Linked DNA regions of Homo sapiens: all the other regions are linked to region 4. The links are contacts of gene promoters, found by promoter capture Hi-C in human tissues and cell types (Jung and others, 2019). All regions are on one chromosome and are shown on one strand. Each heading gives the region's core, a stretch centred on a gene start or on the middle of the fragment in contact. The rest is flanking DNA. Distances are from core to core; before and after follow the strand shown. Region 1 holds the start of FBXW12 (F-box and WD repeat domain containing 12). Region 2 has its middle 28 kb from the start of PLXNB1. Region 3 overlaps USP19 (ubiquitin specific peptidase 19). Region 4 holds the start of CELSR3 (cadherin EGF LAG seven-pass G-type receptor 3). Region 5 overlaps ARIH2 (ariadne RBR E3 ubiquitin protein ligase 2).

The links. The method cuts DNA at HindIII sites, captures the fragments that hold promoters and counts their contacts. A contact is called where the count stands out against the background at its distance.
Region 1: a contact is called between the fragment with the promoter of FBXW12 here and the fragment with the promoter of CELSR3 in region 4, in 2 of the 25 tissues and cell types used here (lymphoblastoid cells and spleen).
Region 2: a contact is called between a fragment that was not itself captured here and the fragment with the promoter of CELSR3 in region 4, in 1 of the 25 tissues and cell types used here (IMR-90 fibroblasts).
Region 3: a contact is called between a fragment that was not itself captured here and the fragment with the promoter of CELSR3 in region 4, in 1 of the 25 tissues and cell types used here (dorsolateral prefrontal cortex).
Region 5: a fragment that was not itself captured here is called in contact with the fragment with the promoter of CELSR3 in region 4 in 1 of the 25 tissues and cell types used here (adrenal gland).

The regions. Positions count from the first base shown.
Region 1 is chr3:48,370,769-48,373,468 of GRCh38, forward strand. FBXW12 (F-box and WD repeat domain containing 12) reads left to right here and starts at 1,451. Exons shown (of 11, transcript NM_207102.2): 1 at 1,451-1,552; 2 at 1,916-2,089; 3 at 2,540-2,577. The coding sequence starts at 2,000. The HindIII fragment of the contact is 16,322 bases long and covers 1-2,700 here.
Region 2 is chr3:48,400,377-48,403,076 of GRCh38, forward strand. No RefSeq gene overlaps it. Among named protein-coding and RNA genes, the nearest start is that of PLXNB1, 28 kb to the right of the region's middle. The HindIII fragment of the contact is 5,455 bases long and covers 1-2,700 here.
Region 3 is chr3:49,111,057-49,113,756 of GRCh38, forward strand. USP19 (ubiquitin specific peptidase 19) reads right to left here. Exons shown (of 27, transcript NM_001199161.2): 18 at 1,433-1,573; 19 at 1,228-1,346; 20 at 855-992; 21 at 444-757; 22 at 199-309; 23 at 1-110. Among named protein-coding and RNA genes, the nearest start is that of QARS1, 7.6 kb to the left of the region's middle. The HindIII fragment of the contact is 5,151 bases long and covers 1-2,700 here.
Region 4 is chr3:48,661,524-48,664,223 of GRCh38, forward strand. It overlaps CELSR3 (cadherin EGF LAG seven-pass G-type receptor 3), which reads right to left and starts at 1,363. Exons shown (of 35, transcript NM_001407.3): 1 at 1-1,363. The coding sequence starts at 1,111. LINC02585 (long intergenic non-protein coding RNA 2585) reads left to right here and starts at 2,245. Exons shown (of 3, transcript NR_111921.1): 1 at 2,245-2,290. RefSeq lists enhancers at 1-257, 1,369-1,558, 1,429-2,014, 2,329-2,688. The HindIII fragment of the contact is 20,539 bases long and covers 1-2,700 here.
Region 5 is chr3:48,961,918-48,964,617 of GRCh38, forward strand. The region is part of intron 4 of ARIH2 (ariadne RBR E3 ubiquitin protein ligase 2); the gene reads left to right. Among named protein-coding and RNA genes, the nearest start is that of P4HTM, 27 kb to the right of the region's middle. RefSeq lists an enhancer at 1,625-2,272. The HindIII fragment of the contact is 8,208 bases long and covers 1-2,700 here.

The DNA of each region.
Region 1 (2,700 bases), core at 201-2,700, 290 kb before region 4:
CACCCCGCCACCACCACCCCCCAACACACCTTCCTGTTCCTCTATTTTTTTTGTTGTTGTTGTTGAGATGGAGTCTCGCACTGTCGCCCAGGCTGGAGTGCAGTAGCGCAATCTCAGCTCACTGCAACCTCCACCTCCCAGCTTCAAGCAATTCTCCTGCCTCAGCCTCCCAAGTAGCTGGGATTACAGGCACCCGCCACCACGCCCAGCTAATTTGTTGTATTTTTAGTAGAGACAGGGTTTCACTATGTTGGCCAAGCTGGTCTCAAACTCCTGACCTGGTGATCCACCCGCCTCGGCCTCCCCAAGTGCTGGGATTACGGGCATGAGCCACTGTGCCTGGCCTCTGTTCCTCTATTTCAAATTCATTCATTCACTCATTCGGCAATTTGCTTCAGTTTCCTTATGTTTGCCTCTTTCTCATCTGTCCTCTTTTCCATTTTATTCCTACTCTGTCTCAGTCCACTTACAGTTATATTTCCTATCTGTGTATTTTATAATATTTGTGCTTTAATACTTTTAAAATATCCTTTATTTTACTGTTTCTTCTCTTCCCTTGTCATATTTTAAAGTGTTTTATTTCTCAGCCTTCTATATCTTTGCATTAATTCTGTTCCTCTACAATAGAGTCCGTTCCAAGCTTTCTGTCTTCCTGTGTCCTTCCACGGCTCTGGCTCTCTCTGCATTATTTCCTATTTATGGAATACAAATCTTTTACCCTTGTATTTTTCTCACTCCTCTCCACACACCCCTTGACTCGCCTTTCCCCACGCCCCTCTAGGTGCTTCTTGGTCTTTGCTTTTCCTTTTTATTTCCTCACCATGTCAATTTGTATTTTTCCTCTCTCTTACTACTGTATCATAAATGGGACTCCCGACAACCACTCCCGTGTGTCTGCCTGGAGGCAGCAGTTTTAAGAAGGGTTGGCCACTGAGCCTCACAGAGGGACCCCTGTCTTATGCTGCAGCAAAGTACCATAGACTGGGTGGCTTACAAACAAATTTATTTCTCACAATTTTGGAGGAGAGAAGTCCAAGAGTCACCTGTCAGCACGGTCAGGTTCTGGTGTGGGCCTTCTTCCAGGTTGCAGCTGACACCTTCTCATGTCCTCGCATGATATGAACAGGGCTAGAGAGCGTTCTGGGGTCTCTTTTATAAGGTCACTGGTCCCATCATAAGGACTCTGCCTGTGACCCACTTACCTCCCAAAGGCCCCCCACCTCCAATCACACCAAGGGTTAGAATTTCAACGTAGGAATTTTGAGAGGACACAAACACCCAGGCTATGACACGGTCTTTAGAAAATCCCAGAATGAGTTGTCAGGTTCTTGGGAGATCTGTAACTGTGGGAAAGCGTCACATCCCAGGGAAAGCCACCAGCTGGGAGAGCCATCCCAGACAAGGCCTGCTCCCTTTGGGCGGACCTCTGTGGAGAAGCCAGCTTGGCACGTTCTTTCTCCTCCACTGCAAAGTTAAATGCGAGAAGGTAGAAACCCAGAGGCCATGCTGGCGCTGAGAGATGAGCCCCACTCACCAGATTCAAGATCCCAAGGTAGGCACAGACACAGGGCAAGCAGACTCCAATTCCAGGAGTTTGGAACTTAAATAGAGTCATAGAGACACTCAGATCTGATCAAAGTGAGTGCACTCGGTGACATTTCCTAAAGGGTTCTGACAACTTCATCTGCAACTGGGGCTGCCCCAGGTTCTGCACCTCCAGCTCACAGCGCACAGGTGTTGCTGAGCTCCTCTAAACAATGAACAGCACTAACAAGTGGGTTTAGGTAGGGATGCCTGCCAGCTGTGTGGATCAGGCCCCAGGGGAGAGGCCGGGGTGGAGGTCAGCCCGGGAGTCTGCACACCTGCAGCTTGTTTCTACCGCACACAGATGGGCATGGGTGAAAATCTTTACAAGTGCTGCAGACTTTGGCAAAGCCTATAAATTCAGAGCAGCCCGGAGAGGAGAAAGGAAAGTGGATGTGGGTTCAGGCCGCATGAAATGGAGATCCGATTGCCTGACTTAGCTTTGAAGCGAATCTTCTCTTTCCTGGACCTGTTCGGCTTGCTGCAGGTTTCCCAGGTGAACAAGGTAAAGGCCTTCCACCTCCCACTGCCCCCCAAGCCCGCTGCTTCTCTCGACCAGTTTGAGCACCACTTTGCAGAATAGCAGAGGGTTACACTGAGGCTTTGGGGGTTAGCATTCTTCATACTGAGGGCCTCATATTCTGTTAAACGAAAAGGACAAGCTGATATCCAGGAGTTGTGCTGACTAAACAGTCCTTGAGGCTCCCATTTCAAGCCCTAGGAAATCAACACTTCTTCCTGTGAATTCATGGGAATACCCAGTGCCTGTATTAGCAGTGATAGGTCTCTGTTGTTACCATTTCCTTATCTCCCCACACTGAGAGTGCTTTGAGAGCTGGAATCCCATCTGATTAACCTGTGCGGGCCCAGCTCCCAGAACAAATAATAGCAGAGGATTACCCTTGCTCTCTGATGTAACTGATTGCCTGCTTGTCTCTTCCTTTCTCTCCCATAGCATTGGAATAGGATTGCAGACAGTGATTACCTGTGGAGGTAAGGGAAGGGAAAGGGCAAGGAGGGAAGGGGAGAGGAGATCATCTGACTGCGCACCCATGCTGTGTCCCAAGGCCTGTGTGGCTGTGTTGTGAGATATACACAGGAAAGTTAGTGTGAGTA
Region 2 (2,700 bases), core at 131-2,630, 260 kb before region 4:
AGCTCAGGCTGGAGTGTGGTGGCATAATCTCAGCTCACTGAAACCTCTGCCTCCCAGGTTCAAGTGATTTTCCTTCCTCAGCCTCCCCAGTAGCTGGGATCACAGGTGCACACAATCACACCCGGCTAATTTCTGTATTTTCAGTAGAGATGGGGTTTCACCATGTTGATCAGGGTGGTCTCGAACTCCTGACCTCAAGTGATCCACCCACCTTGGCCTCCCAAAGTGCTGGGATTACAGGTGTGAGCCACTGTGCCCGGCTGTTTTCTTGACTAGTCACTCACTGTTATCTCAACTATGTCCTAAGACATAGCTCACCCTAAAACCAGAATTCACGTTAAAGACAGGGTAAGATTACTCACTAAGCTCCAGCACTACTGAATTCCACTGTTGTGATTTCTCTCTCTCTTTTTTTGAAGAGACAGGGTCTCACTGTCACCCAGTCTGGAGTGGAGTGGCATAATCTTTCACTGCAGCCTCAAACTCCTGGAGTCCAGCAATCCTCCCACCTCAACCTCTTAAATAGCTGAGACTACAGATGTGTGCTACCATGCCCAGCTAATTTTTAAACAGTTTTCGTAAAGATGGGGTCTGGCTATCTTGCCCAGGCTTGCAATTTATAGAGCTCCAGACACCCTCATTGGTAGCTGCTTCTGATAAATTCCACACTATGGCCAGAAGATGGCAGCAAACCACCAGCTTCAGCCACTTACCTGTGGCCCAGGACACCGGACCAGGTTTCCAAAATCTGAGCTTCACATTCCTAGACCTCCAGAGGTTCTCTTCATGGCCACCTGGACAACTGGCAAACCATTCTGTTTCCTTACACGTGCACATATCATCCAGATAACTGAAACTCTTATCAATAAAACCCCAACATCACAACCAGGGCATAAATTCTCTTTCAAACATCATGGTGATATCCTTATCTTAGATTTTTGGTAAACATTTGGAATTGGATAAACCATCATCCTTAATTAAGACAGAGAACACTTTTTTTTTTTTTTTTTTGAGATGGAGTTTTGCTCGTCACCCAGGCTGGAGTGCAGTGGCGCGATCTCGACTCAGTGCAACCTCCGCCTCCCGGGTTCAAGCGATTCTCCTGTCTCAGCCTCCTGAGTAGCTGGGATGAGAGGCGCCCGCCACCACACCTGGCTAATTTTTTGTATTTTTAGAAGAGACGGGGTTTTGCCATGTTGGGCAGGCTGGTCTCAAACTCCTGACCTCAGATGATCCGCCTGCCTCGGCCTCCCAAAGTGTTGGGATTACAGGGGTGAGCCACTGCGCCTGGCCGACAGAACACTTTTAAAGAGAGATCCATAAAACATCGCCAGTCAGCTGACCTAGGTAGTTTGGGGTGTATTTGTTCTTCAATGTGGCATCCTTAGGGAACCTGGTGGAGGAAACACATGCATCAGCAGCCATTGGTGCCAAGCAGAACACAGCTAGGTTCCCTGTATCCCCCAGCACCACCCAGAGTCACCTGTTGGCACTGGCCAGTGGGATCCAGGTCCTGACCATTTGGAAGGTTTCAGGTGGCTTCTAAGAATTCCAACATTCATCAGCATAAATTCAGCTGTTATCTTAATTAGCACGATTATTTCAGTATCAGAAAATTAATAAAAATATAGAACTCCTGGGTCATGTAACCATTTGGACAATTATTCCAACTTTTAAGTTGGTGAAAACGCTTTTTAATAAAGCACATCACTCCATAAAACGCCTTAAGGAGCCCCGGGTGGTAATGAGAAACAAAGGCCCTTTGTATGCTAACAGGTTTGTGAAAAATGTAATAATGAGGGCACACTTTCGTTGCAGTCTTAATAAAAATTAGGAAAAGATTGATCAAACTGAATTACAAATGTTCTATGCTGAAATTGTGGTCATGACCCAAGTTAAGCGATCACAAATTCTTGCTGGTGTTGGAATCTCCATTCTTGGTCATGGTTTGGAGTGAAGACAGAATTTCCTATCTTCTTGTGCCAGGTTTTTCTTCTCTATGTCTGTTATTATAACAATGTTCTGTGGCGGCTGAGCCATGACTCAGTGAGTGACTCAAAGCACGTTCAGTACTCACCCCTCCCGCGGGCACGTGCCCAGGCTTGCAGGCACATGGCCCCCCTCTCCCGGGAGCCTTCACCTACCCCTAAAACCTGCAGGGGCCTGAACCTGGAACAGAGAGGCCTCTGGAACAGAGGCATGGCTCTGTCGAGGTCTGTGGTGCTGACCAAGGCTGCTTCCCTCTGTGTCTGCTTGAAGTCCACCCTCAAGTGGATTTCCCATCCACCCTGCTCCCAGAGATGGTCAAGATGGAGACCCATTCCATGGTCTCCAACGGGAAAAGTCAGGACCATTCTGGGTGGCTATGAAAACCTGGCCAGAGCATCCAAGCTCACATGCTCCCAAATGATGGCACCTGGCTGCTGACCTGACTGTGGTCCCCACATCCGGCAGAAATGGGAAAGAAGGGACAATGGAGCCACAGCGAAGAATAGCAGCTATGACTACCCCCGGCACAGACAAGACCAACATGGCTCCTTAGGGACAAGGACTTTGTGGATTGTAGGGGCAACCCTACAGTGGATGGCTTTATTTAGGGCCAAAAAAAGGCAGGGGATAGGAGTCCTCCTGGAATTCTATCAGTCTGTCTCTCTCTAAACACTCAATGAAGACCTCGAGGGGAGGTTGTGGTCTCTGTGC
Region 3 (2,700 bases), core at 83-2,582, 450 kb after region 4:
AGCACATTCCAGCTCCTTGGAGGCTACCAACACAAACTCCTGCAAGCGCTCATTGTTCCGCCAGACGAGAGCCAGGCTACAGTCGTCACCCAGCTCCAGTGGGGTGTCTCCTGGAGATTCGCAGGGAGAGAGGTCATGCAGCTGTGGAGAACAGCCAGCTCAACCCACCCCATGGCTCCCACCCACAGCCTCAGACACCTTTGTCCTCTAGCCGCTGCTCTCGGTTGGATGAATCAATTTTATAGATGAAGAACTGGGGTGTGTGGGCATTCATAGCTTCACTTGGATGCTGGTACCCAGGCACAGCAGCTGTGTGAGAACATGATAATCAAAGCTTCCCTGCCCATCAGGGCCTCACCAGGCCCACCAGGCCCTAAACAACAGCCCCCTCCATCCTCCCTTATCCTCCTCCCCAGCTTCTAGAGCCTTTCACTGGATCTTACCTTCGGGTCGGGACACCCTCTCGCCAGCTGGCAAGGAGCCAACCTCAATGGGCCCACTGGCCAGCATCTCAGAAGAAATTCCACTGGTGCTGGGCACAGGACCCCGGTCAGGGGCTGCCCACACCCGGGGAAGCCCTGTGTCCCCCTCAGCCATAGGGGTCACCAGCTGGAGCTCAGGTGGCTGAATGGGGTCTCTCTCGCTGTCCCCAGCCTCCAGGGAACCTGTGGAGAGCAGTGTGGTGCAGCCAGGGCTCTGAGACTCCAAGGCCATGCGGCCTGGCTGAAAGGGTGGCTGGAATACACTCACAGAGTACCTGGCAACAGAGAACAACGCAAGTAAGACTCCTGACCAGCCCATCTAGCACCTCTGCCCCCACCTACACCACTCTAGTCCAACCACTGGGCACTTACCGGGCATAGCCCTCTAGCAACTGAGCGAGGCGGGCATAAGTGAGGCGTGAGGCAGGTACACTGACCAGGAAGGGGTAGCCAATGTTCTCAGGTCGGCAGAGGCCCTTGTGGTCAGGCCAGTGGGTTTTCTGGCAGAGCCTGACGGGAAGAGGAAGACAAGGATAGGCCCTTAGCCCCATCTCCTATGACTCCATACTGGGGGCTAGTCATAGTCCCTGGGAACTGGGTACGCCAGCCCTGCCTCCCCCAGAGCCTGGTAAAGTAGGGTGGCAAGTAGAAAGCTTAAGCATATGTGCCTTGGTGTGAAGGGAAGGAGCAGGGTGGCACATGGAAGGTGGAAAGAAAGGGTAGGGGAGACCATGGGGGTCCTCACTGGTTGCAGTAGCCCACACGGTAGCACCGGGTACAGCGCTTCAGCTTTTCATCCTCCGACTGTTGCTTCCGCTGGCAGGCTGCACACTTGGAGATGGGGACGCTGGGCACCTGGGGGCGCTAGGGTGGGTCGTCTGGCTCAGCAAGACCAGGAAGAAGTGCCCCACCCACCAGGGCGCTGTGCCATCAGGTTGGCCCCCACTCACCTGTTGCACCTCTAGCACCACTACCCGCTCCTTAGCCAACTCTGAGGATAGCAGCTCAAAGCAGAGGAGCGTATCAGATGGGGACACAGTGTCCAGTGAGTGGGAGGGTAGGAACACACGATGAAAACGATTCTTAATTACCTGGGGACAGAGAACACACAGATCCCACGTGAGGATAAGCCCTTTCCCTAGCCCTGCCCCAGAGTTTAAGAAGGCTTGGCCCTGCCTTGGGTCTATGTGGGCAGTGGTGAGGTCTGTAGGCCCAAATAGGCTTATGCCTCTGCTGGCACCTGTCTCAGTGCCCAATGCCATAAGGAGCCTGGTGCATCAGAGGGCCTGAAAGACCAGGTGTGAGGCAGATATCAACCACACCAGCTCTCCACACTGAGGGACTCTGCCCTGCTATAACTAGCATAGCCTTATAAGACTGTAACATATTATCATGGAGGGTCCACATTCAAAGAGCCTCCTCCCCACTCTTACCCCTAAGAAAACCAACACTGTCAGGCTAAAGGCTAGGAACCCCTGGGGAGAGCTAGCACACACAACTGGGATAAAAGGAGAGAGCAGCAGGATAGAGGGAGAGGCAGAGCGAACATAGGGATAGTCCTGCAGCTCAAGCTCCTTGTCTAAAAAGGGAAATGCAGTTGGGATCCACCACCACAAAGGGGAATAAACCCTGATAATGGCTAGGAACTGAGGGCACTTCTGTTGCACAGAAAAAATAACAGCACATCGCCTGTTTTTGTACAGTCACAGGCATACTCATGTGTATGTCTATTTTTATTTTATTTTATTTTATTTTTGAGACAGAGTCTCACTCTGTCACCCAGGCTGGAGTGCAGTGGCGCGATCTCGGCTCACTGCAACCTCTGCCTCCCAGGTTCAAGCGATTCTCCTGCCTCAGCCTCCTGAGCAGCTGGGACTACAGACATGTGCCACCACGCCCGGCTAACTTTTCCTGTATTTTTAGTAGAGGTGGGGTTTCACCATGTAAGCCAGGGTGGTCTGGATCTCCTGACCTTGTGATCCATCAGCCTTGGCCTCCCAAAGAGCTGGGATTACAGGCATGAGCCACCACGCCTGGCCCTATTTTTATTTTTTTATCTATTTATTTATTTATTTTTGAGACAGAGTCTCACTCTGTCACCCAGGCTGGAGTGCTGTGGTGCAATCTCTGCTCACTGCAACCTCCACATCCCGGGCTCAAGTGAGCCTCTTGCCTCAGCCTCCCAAGTAGCTGGGACTATAACACGTACCACCATGCC
Region 4 (2,700 bases), core at 113-2,612:
GGCTGTTCATGAGTGCCGCCAGCGAGTAGACTAGGCGCCCGGCCTCGCCGGCGTCCGGGTCCTGAGCAACCACGCGTAGCACCGCGGTGCCTGCTGCCTCATTCTCCGGCACCAGCGTCTGGTAGTTGTACTGCGGAAACTGCGGGTGGCGGTTTGCGGCGCGACGAAAGCGTGCCCGGTTCGCCGAGGTTACTTTCCTGGCTTCAGGACGGGCCGGGAGTCCCGGGGGACGCGGCCCGGGGCGCTGCGGGAGGAAGCGGCAGCGGAAGAGACCCCGGGAGCGCATGCGCTTGGGCGCCGGCTCGGGAGCTGTCCGAGACTCGCGGGGTGCTGAACCTGATGCAGGAGCTGTCCTCGCCGTGCGTGGTGCTGAATCCAGCTCGGGGCCAGATCCCGAGGCCCCTGGAAGACAGTTCCGCCGGGGGGCTGTCCTTTCTGCTCCGGATGTCGTGGCTCTCTCGCCCTGACCCTTGCTCCCTGTTGCCCATAATTCCCCACAGCAGCGCGCGGTGCCCACTCTTTTGCGGGAGCCTGTCCCAGCGTTCCGCTGGGAGGACACCGGCTTGGGACCGTGGTGCCGAATCAAAAAGTCTGAAGGGAGGGGCGAGCTGTTCCCCGAGCCCGGGACCCCTGAGGACAGAGCCCCTGGTGACAGACTACCTCTTTGCAAAGGTCCTGTCCGCCCGCAAGAGGAGACCTCTGGGCGCCAGTATAACACAGACCCTGGTCCCTGTCCTGTCTCTCGTTCGCGGCTGCCCAATGGCTGGACGCCGTGTTCAATCCCCAGCTCCTCATTCGGCTGCTCAGGGGGCCCTCGACTATTCCGGGCGCTTTGCCTTCTCCCTCGGAGCCCCACGAAGATAGGCTCCCTGACCCCCAGGCCAGGCCCCCCATCCTCCCGGACCCCGGAAGACTCCGGACAAAGAGCTAAGGCTCCGCCACCGATATGCGCCCTTGGCCCCGTAGTGGCAGCTAAGCCTGGGTCCCAGCCCTGGTGCCCACCGCCCCCCAGCTCCTCCTGGCTGAGGGGGAACAAAGAGAGGAGAAGGAGCAGGAGTATGGGGGTCGACCGTCCCCCGAGGCCCCGCCACGGCGGCCGCCTCGCCATCATCCCCCGCCTCCCTGCACGGCCTCCACCGCCCCCCGCCCCGGTCCGGGCCTTGGGCTGGCCCCGCCGCTCGGGCCCCCTCCCGGGCCCCTGCCGCCGCCCCGGGCCCCCGCCCCTCCGCCTGTCTCTCCGCACCCCCGCCGCCCTCTGGGCACCATCTACTCCGCGGCCGGAGCCCCTCCGGCGTGCGGCCCTGGCTTTTTCCGCCCCCACCACAGCATCCCCGACGCTGCTGCCGCCTCCCGCCGCTCCAACATGGCTCCCGGCCGCCCCGATGGTTCGCTCCACCTCTGCCCCGGCGCCCGAAACACGGTGGTACAACCCATCGCGCATGGCAGCTCTGAGGACCGAAGATGTTGCCGCCATCTTTATTGAGGACGTGAGCGTTGCTCCTGGTGCTGAACAGAGCGCGAAGGTTCGCCGTCGTTGGGTCCGCCCTCCCCACTTTCGGTCGCCGCCTTCACCCACCTCCCTCCTTCTAGGGCGCTGTCCCAGCTCCGTCTCCCAGCCTTTTTCTGTCCTTCCAGATCTCTTGTTCCCCCTTCCTGACCACTAGTTCTGAACCGTGTCCCGGATTTTGGTCTGAAATTTTGGTGCCCATGAGCGTTCTCATAGCTCTGGGAGGGGGTACTGTGTGAAATCCTGGGGTAGAGGGGACGATGGCTGGAGAGGGGTCTGGGGTGCCAGCACCCCGAACAATAGCTTTAACTATCCCATCAGCTAGTTTTATGAAACATGTCGCGACCACCTGCTTGTTTGGATCGCCCCTGCGGAGCAGGGACCAGAGATGACCCTCCCGAGGCGGGAGCAGAGGCCAAATTCTTCCCTGCCTTGCTGGTCCCCAGCAGTCTCCCGGGCTCGGGGCCCCTTCACTGGAGGCTGCACCCCCTCCCAGGCTGCGAGTCCCGAGTGCTCTGGGATGCCACGTGGAGCCCGGCGTTGCCCCATGGCTGCGGGCCCCGCTTCTTCGGGTCCCCGCCCCTCGTCCGTCACGACCGCATGCCTTAACCCCTTGAAGGGACTGACACAGAAACTCAGTCCTCCCCCCACCCTCGGTGCATTCCAGCTCTCCCTGCGTAACTCCTGGCACGCGCCGGTCTCGCCAGGCCAATGGGTGGACCTGGCGCAACAGACGTCACGAGAGGAGCGGAGGCGAGGGGTGAACGCGGAGCACTCCAATCGGTCAGTCATTGTTTCTATTGGCACAATGGGAGGCCCCGCCCCTCACGGCGGACTCATCGCATGGGGGAGGGGGCTCCGCGGGTTGCCGGCTAACCGTGAGAGAGTCCGGGAGGTACACTATACGGACCGGCCTCCAAAGGCGGAATCGATAACGAGCTGCAGCGCCGGGTGCAGAGGACGCGGGCATCCCGAAGCCCAGGAAGAGGTCAGGGCCGGGACCCCAGAACGCTCCACAGGGTGCGGCTCCCGCGATGGGGTGGATCCTGGTTCTAACAGGCGAGGAACTCCTGGCCAAGGCCTCTGGCCCGCCCCGAACGGTCCCTATGACATCACCATCAACCAATCAGTCGGCGCATCCTTTCGCCCCTTGACTGCTCCGCTTCCGGGAGGCGGGGCTTCTGCGGGTTCCA
Region 5 (2,700 bases), core at 15-2,514, 300 kb after region 4:
ACTTTTTCCAAACCTCTGTTGTTGGACAGTGAATTCAGATTTTCTTTCCCATTGTTAATTTTTAATCAGTGCCTTTCTAGGTAACACGCGCCAACATCTTTTACTTCTTTTGGATACGTCAACTTGAGGATTGTATCATAGTACGAGTTGTATTTCCTTTAGAAAATGTAGGCTGCTGGCTGTACGTGGTGGCTCATGCCTGTAATCTCAGCACTTTGGGAGGCTGAGGCGGGCGGATCACCTGAGGTCAGGAGTTTGAAATCAGCCTGGCCAGCATGATGAAACCCCTTCTCTACTAAAAATATGAAAATCAACCTGGCGTGGTGGTGCACTCCTGTAGTCCCAGCTACTCAGAAGGCTGAGGCAAGAGAATCGCTTAAACCCTGGAGGCAGAGGTTGCAGTGAGCCGAGATTGTGCCACTGCACTCCAGCCTGGTGGCAGAGTGAGACTCCATCTCAAAAAAAAAAACAGAAAGAAAATATAGGCTACTTTACCACCCACCACCTCTACCAGCAGTGTATTTGAGTATTTCTTTCCACCTCCTCCAGAACTAGAGATCTTAAGATACAGACCTTAGAGTCTCAAGATGTCTTACAAGTTGTCAGGAAAAGGGGCACCTCCTCCTCTGCATCCTCTGTAGAGATCTCCTATGCTCACCCTCGGAGGCGTGTGCCCCTGTCTAGCACAGTGTTTCTCATCCTCAGCATTATTGACATTTTAGACTAGATAACTCTTTGTTGTGGGGGGCCTGATCTGTGAATTGTAGGATGTCTGGCAGCATCCCTGGGCTCTATTAGAAGCCACACCTCTAAGTCCTTGGCAATCAAAATGTCTCCAAACATTGTCAAATAACTCGTGGGGAGCAAAATTCCCTCTGGTGAGAAGCACTTGTTACCATTCCTACTCTTTCACACTGCAGTGAATCTTCCTTTCTCGTATGGTATGTTTTTTTTTATTTTTATTTTTTTGAGACAAAGTCTCACTCTGTCACCCAGGCTGGAGTGCAGTGGCACAACCTTGGCTCACTGCAACCTCCATCTCCAGGGTTCAAGCAACTCTCCTGCCTCAGCCTATGAAGTAGCTGGGATTACCAGCACTTGCCACCATGCCTGGTTAATTCTTGTATTTTTAGTAGAATTTATCTACAGAGGAAGATCGTGCCTTTCCTTCTCCGGGCTGAACACAACTGGGAAGGACATACCAGCTGGAGCAGCTCAGCACAGTCAGGAAAGAGCAAATTCGTTCCTGATTCACTAACTGCACTCATCCTGTGTACTCAAGAACGGAATATATTTAGATGGAATTGCAGATGAACTGCTGCTGCCTTATTATTATACTACTGCCCAAAACTCTGGAACCACATAGGTTCTGGCAATAGGATATCTCTCACTGCCCACACTCTTTCAGCATAACTCAGGAGTGGAGATTTGGATGGCAAAAGATACTTAAAATATTACTGTGGGAATTAGGAATAAAACGGGCCCCTCAATAAGGATAGCTGAGGGAAGCATTCTGACTAGGTAGAAATCACATAGATGAGACATAATTCTTTTCTGCTCCAATTCCTGGTATCTTGGAAATATGTTGACCTGGGCTTTGTGTGGCACTTTTATTGCCACTTGATAATTCTGTTATAAATGGAAAATTATTGTAGGTAACTCTTACTGTCACGTAATTTTTCTGGAGTTAAATATAGAAAAGGAATTATTGGCTATAGCATACGTGTAGTTTTGTCTTTGCTAAATAATTCCAGGTTGTTTTCCAGAGTGATTTACCACTTTACACGCTCAGCAGTGGTATATAGGTGTTCCTGATATTGTAAGACTTAAAGTTTTGCAGTTTGGTGGATGTAAATGGCATCTAATTGTTTCAATGGTCCTGTATTATTAAGGAGGTTGAGAATCTTTTCATATGTTTAATGGCCATTTGTGCTGCCTCCTCCTTTGAAATGCCTGTTAAGTCTTCTCCCCATTTTTTATTGAGTTATTTTGTTATTCCAAATGGATCCTTCCCCCTTCTCCCATGTCCAGTTCCTAGAACCAAATGGATTTTTAGGAGTTTTGTTTACTCTGAATACTGATCCTTTGCCAGTTATTTTTTTTATTTTTATTTTTATTTTTATTTTTTTTAAAGACAGAGTCTTGCTCTGTCTCCCAGGCTGGAGTGCAGTAGTGCAGTCTCTGCTCACTGCAACCTCCACCTCCCAGGTTCAAGCGATCCTCCTGCTTCAGTCTCCCAAGTAGCTGGGATTACAGGCATGAGCCAACACTCCCGGATAGGGTTTCACCATATTGGCCAGGTTGGTCTCAAACTCCTGACCTCAAGTGATTTACCCACCTCGGCCTCCCAAAGTGCTGAGACTACAGGTGTGAGCCACTGCGCCCAGCCATATATATAGAATTTTTTTTTTTTTTTGAGACAGAATCTCGCTCTGTCTTGCAGGCTGGAGTGCAATGGCACAATCTCAGCTCACTGCAACCTCTGCCTCCCGGGTTCGAACGATTCTCTTGCCTCAGGCTCCCAAGTAGCTGGGACTATAGGCACGTGCCACCATGCCCAGCTAATTTTTGTATTTTTAGTAGAGACGGGTTTCACCATCTTGGCCAGGCTGGTCTCAAACTCCTGACCTCAAGTGATCTGCCCGCCTCGGCCTCCCAAAGTGCTGGGATTGCAGGAGTAAGCCACTGCGCCTGGCCTAG